Linked DNA regions of Homo sapiens: region 1 is linked to region 2. Evidence: promoter capture Hi-C in 16 types of primary human blood cells and fetal thymus (Javierre and others, 2016). All regions are on one chromosome and are shown on one strand. The core of a region is centred on a gene start or on the middle of the fragment in contact, and the rest is flanking DNA. Distances in the headings are between cores, read along the strand shown.

Region 1 (3,698 bases), core at 589-3,088, 93 kb before region 2:
TATGATGTTTTAGAGACAGTGTCTCACTCTGTCACCTAGGCTGGAGTGCAATGGCACGATCTTGGCTCACTGCAACCTCCGTCTCCTGGGCTCAGGTGATTCCCCTGCCTCAGCCTCCGAAGTAGCTGGGACTACAGGGTCGTGCCACCATGCCCAGCTAATTGTATCTTTTGGTAGAGACGGAGTTTCACCATGTTGGCCAGGCTGGTCTGGAGCTCCTGATCTCAAGGGATCTGCCTGCCTTGGCCTCCCAAAGTGCTGGGATTACAGGTGTGGGCCACTATGCCCTGCTGATTGTGTGGTTTATAAACAGAAATGTATTTCTCACAGTTTTGGAGCCTGGAGAGTCCAAGGTCAAGGCACTGGTAGGCTCAGGATCTGGTGAGGACCCACTCCTCAGGGAGGACTCCTTCTTGCTGTGTCCTCACATGGTAGAAGGGGCAAGGCAGCTCTCTGGCACCTTTCTTTTTCTTTTCTGTTTTTTTTTTTTTTTTTTTAGATGGAGTTTCGCTCTTGCTGCCCAGGCTGGAGTGCAATGGTACGATCTTGGCTCACCACAACCTCTGCCTCCCAGGTTCAAGCAATTCTTCTGCCTCAGCCTCCTGAGTAGCTGGGATTACAGGCATGCACCACATCTGGCTAATTTCGTATTTTCAGTAGAGACGGGGTTTCTCTATGTTGGTTAGGCTGGTCTTGAACTCCCTCCCGACCTCAGGTGATCTGCCTGCCTCGGCCTCCCTAAGTGCTGGGGTTACAGGCATGAGCCACCGCGCCCAGCCCTCTGGGGCCTTTCTTATAAGGGCACTAATCCCATTCAGGAGACCTAGTTACTCTCCTGACCTAGTTACTCTCCAAAGGCTCAACCTCGTAATGCCATCACATTGAAGGTTAAGTTTCAACGTATGAAATTCGAGAGACACAAACTTTCAGACTCACTCTTTGGAGACGCCTATTTTTCTCAGAAATAAGCTTTGCCTGTGCCTGAATTCCTGGACAAGAACTTGGGTAAGGCCCAGATTCCCATTCCATACACTGCAGAAGAGGGGCATGAGATCTGGAAAATGTTCAAGGCTGGTGGTATCAGTTACCTGCTTAATAAGTCAGTTTTCAGTGCATGATAAAACATTCTTTCATTCTGAAATTTGTTTTATTTCATTTTATTTTATTTTTGAGACAGAGTTTCGCTCTCGTTGCCCAGGCTGGAATGCAATGGTGCGATCTCAGCTCACTGCAACCTCTGCCTCCCAGGTTCAAGTGATTCTCCTGCCTCAGCCTCCTGAGCAGCTGGGACTACAGGTACCTATCACCATGCCAAGCTAATTTTTTGTATTTTTAGTAGAGACAGGGTTTCACCATGTTGGTCAGGCTGGTCTTGAACTCCTGACCTCAGGTGATCCGCCTACCTTGCCCTCCCAAAGGGCTGGGATTACAGGCGTGAGCCACTGCACCCGGCCAGGAAATTTGTTTAAAAAACAACCTTGGAGTGGACGCCCTGGTGACAACCAGCTCCGGGATTCTCTGCTTTATCAATTCTTCATTGTCAGCACTGAGCAGGATCTAAGGGCTGTTTTCTCTCTCTCTCTCTCTCTCTCTTTCTCTGCCCCCTCCCTGACCCTGACACAAGGCAGCATGGCTTATATGAACCAGGCCTGGGTTTGAATCTTGGCTCTGCCACTTACTAGCTATGTGACCTTGGACACGTCACTTGCTCTCTGCGTCTCAATTTCTTTGAAAAATGAGAAACGCATCACCTTTCCTCTAGATTTATAGTGAGGATTCAATGTAATAATGATGGAAAATATGAAACATAGCACAAGTGGTTGGGAAAGATAAAGTGCAATTGGAAGTGAGGGGAACTAAAAGGGCTCAGGAATGGTTTCTGAGAAGAATTATGATTTATAAAAACAGAGACTGGTTCTTAGGTGCTAGACAGAGTCCCCTAGCAGAGCACACAAGGCCAGGGCAGAATGACAGGTTCAACCATTCACGTACATACATGCACACACACACATACATACATACATAGGTGCGTTAGAGCAGGGAGAATCTCAGATGACCTGTCTAATCCCTGCTTTCACATATGGGGACAGGGAAGCCCAGGGATATAACTGGCTTGTGTATAGGTCAATGGTCAAACCAGGATTACAGGTTCAAATGAGTTTTTGAGGACGCAAGGCCTGCAGAAGAGCCGATTCCCCTGTATTCCCCATAGGCACTTGGTTAGAGGAGCAGCTACTCAGAACCACTTGGCGAATTCTCTGCTTTTTCTTTTTGAGACAGTGTGTTGCTCAGTTACCCAGGCTGGAGGAGTGCAGTGTTGTGACCTCGGCTTACTGCAACCTCTGCCTCCCGGGTTCAAGCAATTCTCTTGCCTCAGCCTCCTTAGTAGCTAGAATTACAGACATCCACCACCATGCCCGGCTAATTTTTTGTATTTTTTAGTAGAGATGGGGTTTCGACATGTTGGCCAGGCTGGTCCTGAACTCCTGACCTCAGGTGATCCGCCTGCCTCAGCCTCCCAAAGAGTTGAGATCACAGGTGTAAGCCACCGTGCCCGGCCTGAATTCTCTGTTCTTGTTTCAAAGGGGAATCCTTCTTGGGGAGGCCAGGTCTGGGAGAGGCCACGATCAGAGGGTCTGGCCACAGGCAGTTCTAACAGACAGTGCTGTTCCCTCCTTGTTGCTCATGCCCAGGAGAAGAAAGCTTACCCCACCACCCTCGATGCATCTGCCCCTTGTTTTTCAGGGCAGCCCCCATTCCTGGTCCTTTTTCCTGGAAGCCAATGGCTTCCCTACTGCAGAGGGCTGATTGCTCTCTGAGTATCTGCATGGTGCCCTGGGCAGAGGACCTATTGACATGCAGCAGGGACCAAAGGGCTGGCCAAGCCCTCACCCCGGATTCTTGACCTACTTTATGGTCTGCAGATATGTAAAGCGAGAAGCCATCTCTGGCCACGTCCTGGAAAAGCCATGGCTTATCAGCTGCTGTGGTTTTCTGTGCAAATAACCCTCTGCACACCCACTCATTCCTGATTAGGGTGTGAGGGGGTTGCGTCCCTCTTTGAGACTCACTCCCTTGTCAAGATGTCACAGGGTGTATGTGACACATGGCAAAAGTGGCTCCAGGTGCAGAAGGTGAGAAAGGTCTAATCCTTTTATTTATTTTTATTTATTTATTTATTTTGAGATGGAGTTTCACTCTTGTTGCCCAGGCTGTAGTGCAATGGTGCGATCTCAGCTCACTGCAATCTCCACCTCCTGTGTTCAAGTTATTCTCCTGCTTCAGCCTCCTGAGTAGCTGGGATTATAAGCACCCACCACCACACCCGGCTAAGTTTTGTATTTTTAGTAGAGACGGGGTTTTGCCATGTTGGCCAGGCTGATCTCGAACTCCTGACCTCAGGTGATCCACCTGCCTTGGCCTCCCAAAATGCTGGGATTACAAGTGTGAGCCACTGAGTCTGGCCCTTCCTAATCCTTTTATATCCCCAGTCCCGACCCTAGGGACTTGCTGGGGTCTTGATGGGAAAGGAGAGATGGGGGATGGACATGATTGTCAGAAGGAGGAGAGTGAGGGGCAAAACTGGTCCTTCCTTTCTTCCTTCCTTCCTTCAACAAATAGTTATAAGGTGAGGGGTGGAGCGAGGGGATAATAGTCCTGAGCAATGAACTGGTTTCCTCAGGTAGACCCCCTGGTAC
Region 2 (3,716 bases), core at 95-2,594:
GCTCATGTCACACATGGGACCAGGGTCCTGGTGTTTTATTGTTCCATCCAGGGCTCTATTCTATATATAATCTATCTATCTTTCTTTCTTTCTTTTTCTTTCTTTCTTTCATCTTTCTTTCTTTTTTTTTTAGATGGAGTCTCTCTCTGTTGCCAGGCTGGAGTGCAATGGTGTGATCTTGGCTCATTGCTTTGCAACCTCCACCTCCTGGGTTCAAGTGATTCTCCTGCCTTGGCCTCCCAAGTAGCTGGGATTACAGGCACGTGCCACCATGCCTGGCTATATAATACTTCATCAGATATGGTGGTACAGAAAAGATAAGAAGTTGTGCTCTTACAACAAAAGTTTGAAATATCAGATGATCCAGTAGAGTTCTAAAAGATAGTAAAGATTAGAGGCTGTGGGTATCAAAGATGGGTATCTCTGGGGAAAGAGAAGGAAAGAAATTATATTTTCAGATAGCTATGTCTTAGAGAAGAGTATCTTCTGATGTGCAAGTTGGATTAGAGAGAATGTATAGCTAGTGGAGGGACCAGATGAGAAGCTATTTCAATGGTCCAGGACTATTCTAAAGGTATTTAATATTAACTGGGCAGTTACTATGTTCCAGGCACTGTATCAAGCACTTTACTTACATTAACTCATTTATTTCCTGTGGCAACCCTTTGAGAAAGAATTGTCATGAGTACTCTATTTTACAGATGAGGAGACTGAGGAGGAGAGTGATTTGGCAACATGCCCAAGGTCAGATGATTAATAAATGATGGAGATGAGATTTGAGTTTGTGTGACTTCAGAATCTATGCTGTTGACCATGACCCATATACTGAACTAGGTTAACAGTGTATAACCAGGTGGAGCTTCCCTATAGGAAGTTAGAAAGTAGGATCTGGAGCCCAGGAGAGATATTGGGATATTGGGTTAGAGGAAGAGGTGTGAAGTCATCCGCATGGAGATAACGGTTGAGAAAGACATGGGGAGTGATCACCACAGCTCCTTAAGTAGAGGGTGTTTTATGATTCAAAAGTAGGCAGCCATAGAGAAGGGAAGCTCCTTAGATCGATGAAGTAATCCCAGATAGGAAGAAGAGTGAAAGAGGCAGGGAACAGAGTTTTCTCTGTTGGAGAGGTTTCGTAAACTGGGACTGACTTTCATGAAATTCCGAGTCATGAAATCTCAGGGGGTGACTCAAACATTACGTTCACATTAAATGAAGGCCAACAGATTTTCCTGTTTGTGCTTGGTCCATTCTCAGAAACGTCTCTTGCCACCCTTTCTCTTCTGCTAAGTAAGGCTTAAAATTAGGAAGCATTCTTTAAAAGGCAAAAGAGGAAATAGATGAGTGAGAACACAAAGGAAACTTGGACAAGTAGAAAGTGGATGACCCAGGCTCCGTTACATATACTTGGATTCCAGCTGGGACCTAGATTTGCTGAGGACGGAAGCCAAGGAGACAGGAACATGTGGCTGCTCCCAGCTCTACTCCTTCTCTGCCTCTCAGGTGAGTGGGGCTGTGGCTTTGGGGACTTGGTTTTGCAGGGGGCAGGACAGTAGGTAGAAGAGCTGTCCTGGGTTCAAACCAGAGGTGAAGTGTCCACAGAAAAGGGAAAGATACATCCGTTCATTCACCTGTGCATCCTTCTATACATTCAATCATTCATCCACGGATCCTACAAACACTTACTGAGCACCAGATATGTGCCAGGACTGTTCTGGGTGCTGTAATTAAGAGTAACTTCTGAACTGAGGGAGTCAACTAACTACAATACAATGTGGAAATTACTGTTGTAGAGACTCATTCATGTGGTGATGAGAGTATGCAACAGGAACCCCTCACTTTGCTCTTGGAAGGGTGGGAGATGTCACTGAGGCTTCATTGGAAGTCCATCCTGCAGGATGAATGAGTTGGCTGAGTGGGAAAGGAATAGCTTATGTGCAAGTGTGAGGACATTAAAGACCATGGAGAGTTCAAGAATTAACAATAGTTCTGTTTTGACGAAGCTTAGTGTAAAGGGGTTGGAATGGTTTGTGAGAAATAATTAATGGGCTGGGCGTGGTGGCTCACGCCTGTAATCCCATCACTTTGGGAGGCCAAGGTGGGTGGATCACCTGAGGTCAGGAGTTTGAGACCAGCCTGGCCAACATGGTGAAACCCTGTCTCTACTAAAAATACAAAAATTAGCTGGGCGTGGTGATGCATGCCTGTAGTCCCAGCTACTAGGGAGGCTGAGGCAGGAGGATCGCTTGAACTTGGGAGGCGGAGGTTGCAGTGAGCCGAGATTGCACCACTGCAGCAGTCTGGCCTGGGTGATAGAGTTGAGATCCTGTCTGAAAAAAAAAAATGCCATCCTCAACATCTACCTTAAATCCTTCCCGGAACAAGGTGTGGTGTAAACAAGTAAATGAAACTGTCCTGCAAAGGTTGGACTTCAGAAGAGAAACTCTTATTAATAGACATTCAAAATACAAAACTGCAGGAAAACACATTTGTCTCTGGGGAAATAAATTTAGGCTAAAAATTAGAGGACATTCTTCATGTTTGCAGAATGAATTTTATGGTTGAGTTCCCTCACAAAACATAGAAATTGCCCAATGTAATGACAAGATTCTTTCTAGAAGGGTGAGTGAAAATGACAGCGATTTAAAGGAAGAAGACCAGGTAGGTGACATGGACCCAAACTCGTGGGCTCAAGCAATCCTCCTCTCTTGACCTCCCAAAGCACTGGGATTACAGGCATGAGCCACTGCACTCAACCAATGTTTGCTCATTTTGTATTTGAATTTGCTTCCTTTTTCTTTGCCCTTTCCATCTCTCTTTCCACCCCTATCTCATTCCCCATCCTCAGACTCGCAATGTGACCTGCGCAGGTCCCTCTGAAAATCTTAACTGGGAAAGAGAGATGGAAAGGGCAATTCTAGCAGGGAGGGGAAATGACAAAGAGGAAGGAAGCAAATTCAAATACAAAATAAGCAAACGTTGGTTGAGTGAGGTGGCTCACACCTGTAATCCCAGTGCTTTGGGAGGTCAAAGCAGGAGGAATGCTTCAGCCCAGGAGTTTGAGATCAGCCTGGGCAACATAGCAAGACCCCATTTCTACAAAAAAAGAAAAGTAAAAAATTTAAAAAGAGCAAAACTAGAATTCTATTTATTACACATTTTTATAACCTATAAACACTTCCAAATAGATGATAGAATTTAACCCTCTGAGCAGTTTTGTGACCCAGGCAGGGCAAATAGCATTGACTCCACTTTATAAATAAGATGATGAAGGGAGATCTGATGACATAAGAACTAAGTAGACAAGCTGGAAATGAAGTCCAGATCTGTGTCCTCCACAGAGCTCTTTCCATTGGCCATGGAGGTGTCAAGAATAAGGCTAACCTAGTAATAGTGACAAAATAGCTGACCTCTCTGCCACATCATCTGGTATTTCCATTCTGAACTGATTGCTGTCCAATATTTAGTAGCTCCCATTAACCTCAAGCAACCAGCAAGCACATGTTTCAACAAATGCACCGACGCATTTATATAATTCCATCAATTATTTCCAGGAACATGCTGGATTTCCTTGAGAAATGCTAATCTTGCATTCAGGTAACACTCTAGCAGGACAGAGGAAAGTATCTTGGAATTAGCATAACCTTCTTTTTCCTTAACTTCAGGTGCCCAGAATTAGATCATGGGTCATGGAACACTCTCTCATCACTGGTCCATTC

Evidence for each region. The method cuts DNA at HindIII sites, captures the fragments that hold promoters and counts their contacts. A CHiCAGO score of 5 or more calls a contact.
Region 1: a contact is called between a fragment that was not itself captured here and the fragment with the promoter of CD300E in region 2, in 1 of 17 cell types (monocytes). The highest score is 5.8, in monocytes.

The regions. Positions count from the first base shown.
Region 1 is chr17:74,714,608-74,718,305 of GRCh38, reverse strand. It overlaps a transcript of RAB37 not described here. Among named protein-coding and RNA genes, the nearest start is that of CD300LF, 3.5 kb to the right of the region's middle. The HindIII fragment of the contact is 1,734 bases long and covers 972-2,705 here.
Region 2 is chr17:74,621,366-74,625,081 of GRCh38, reverse strand. CD300E (CD300e molecule) reads left to right here and starts at 1,344. Exons shown (of 4, transcript NM_181449.3): 1 at 1,344-1,500. The coding sequence starts at 1,461. The region is part of intron 3 of LOC101928343 (a long non-coding RNA gene); the gene reads right to left. The HindIII fragment of the contact is 4,294 bases long and covers 1-2,002 here.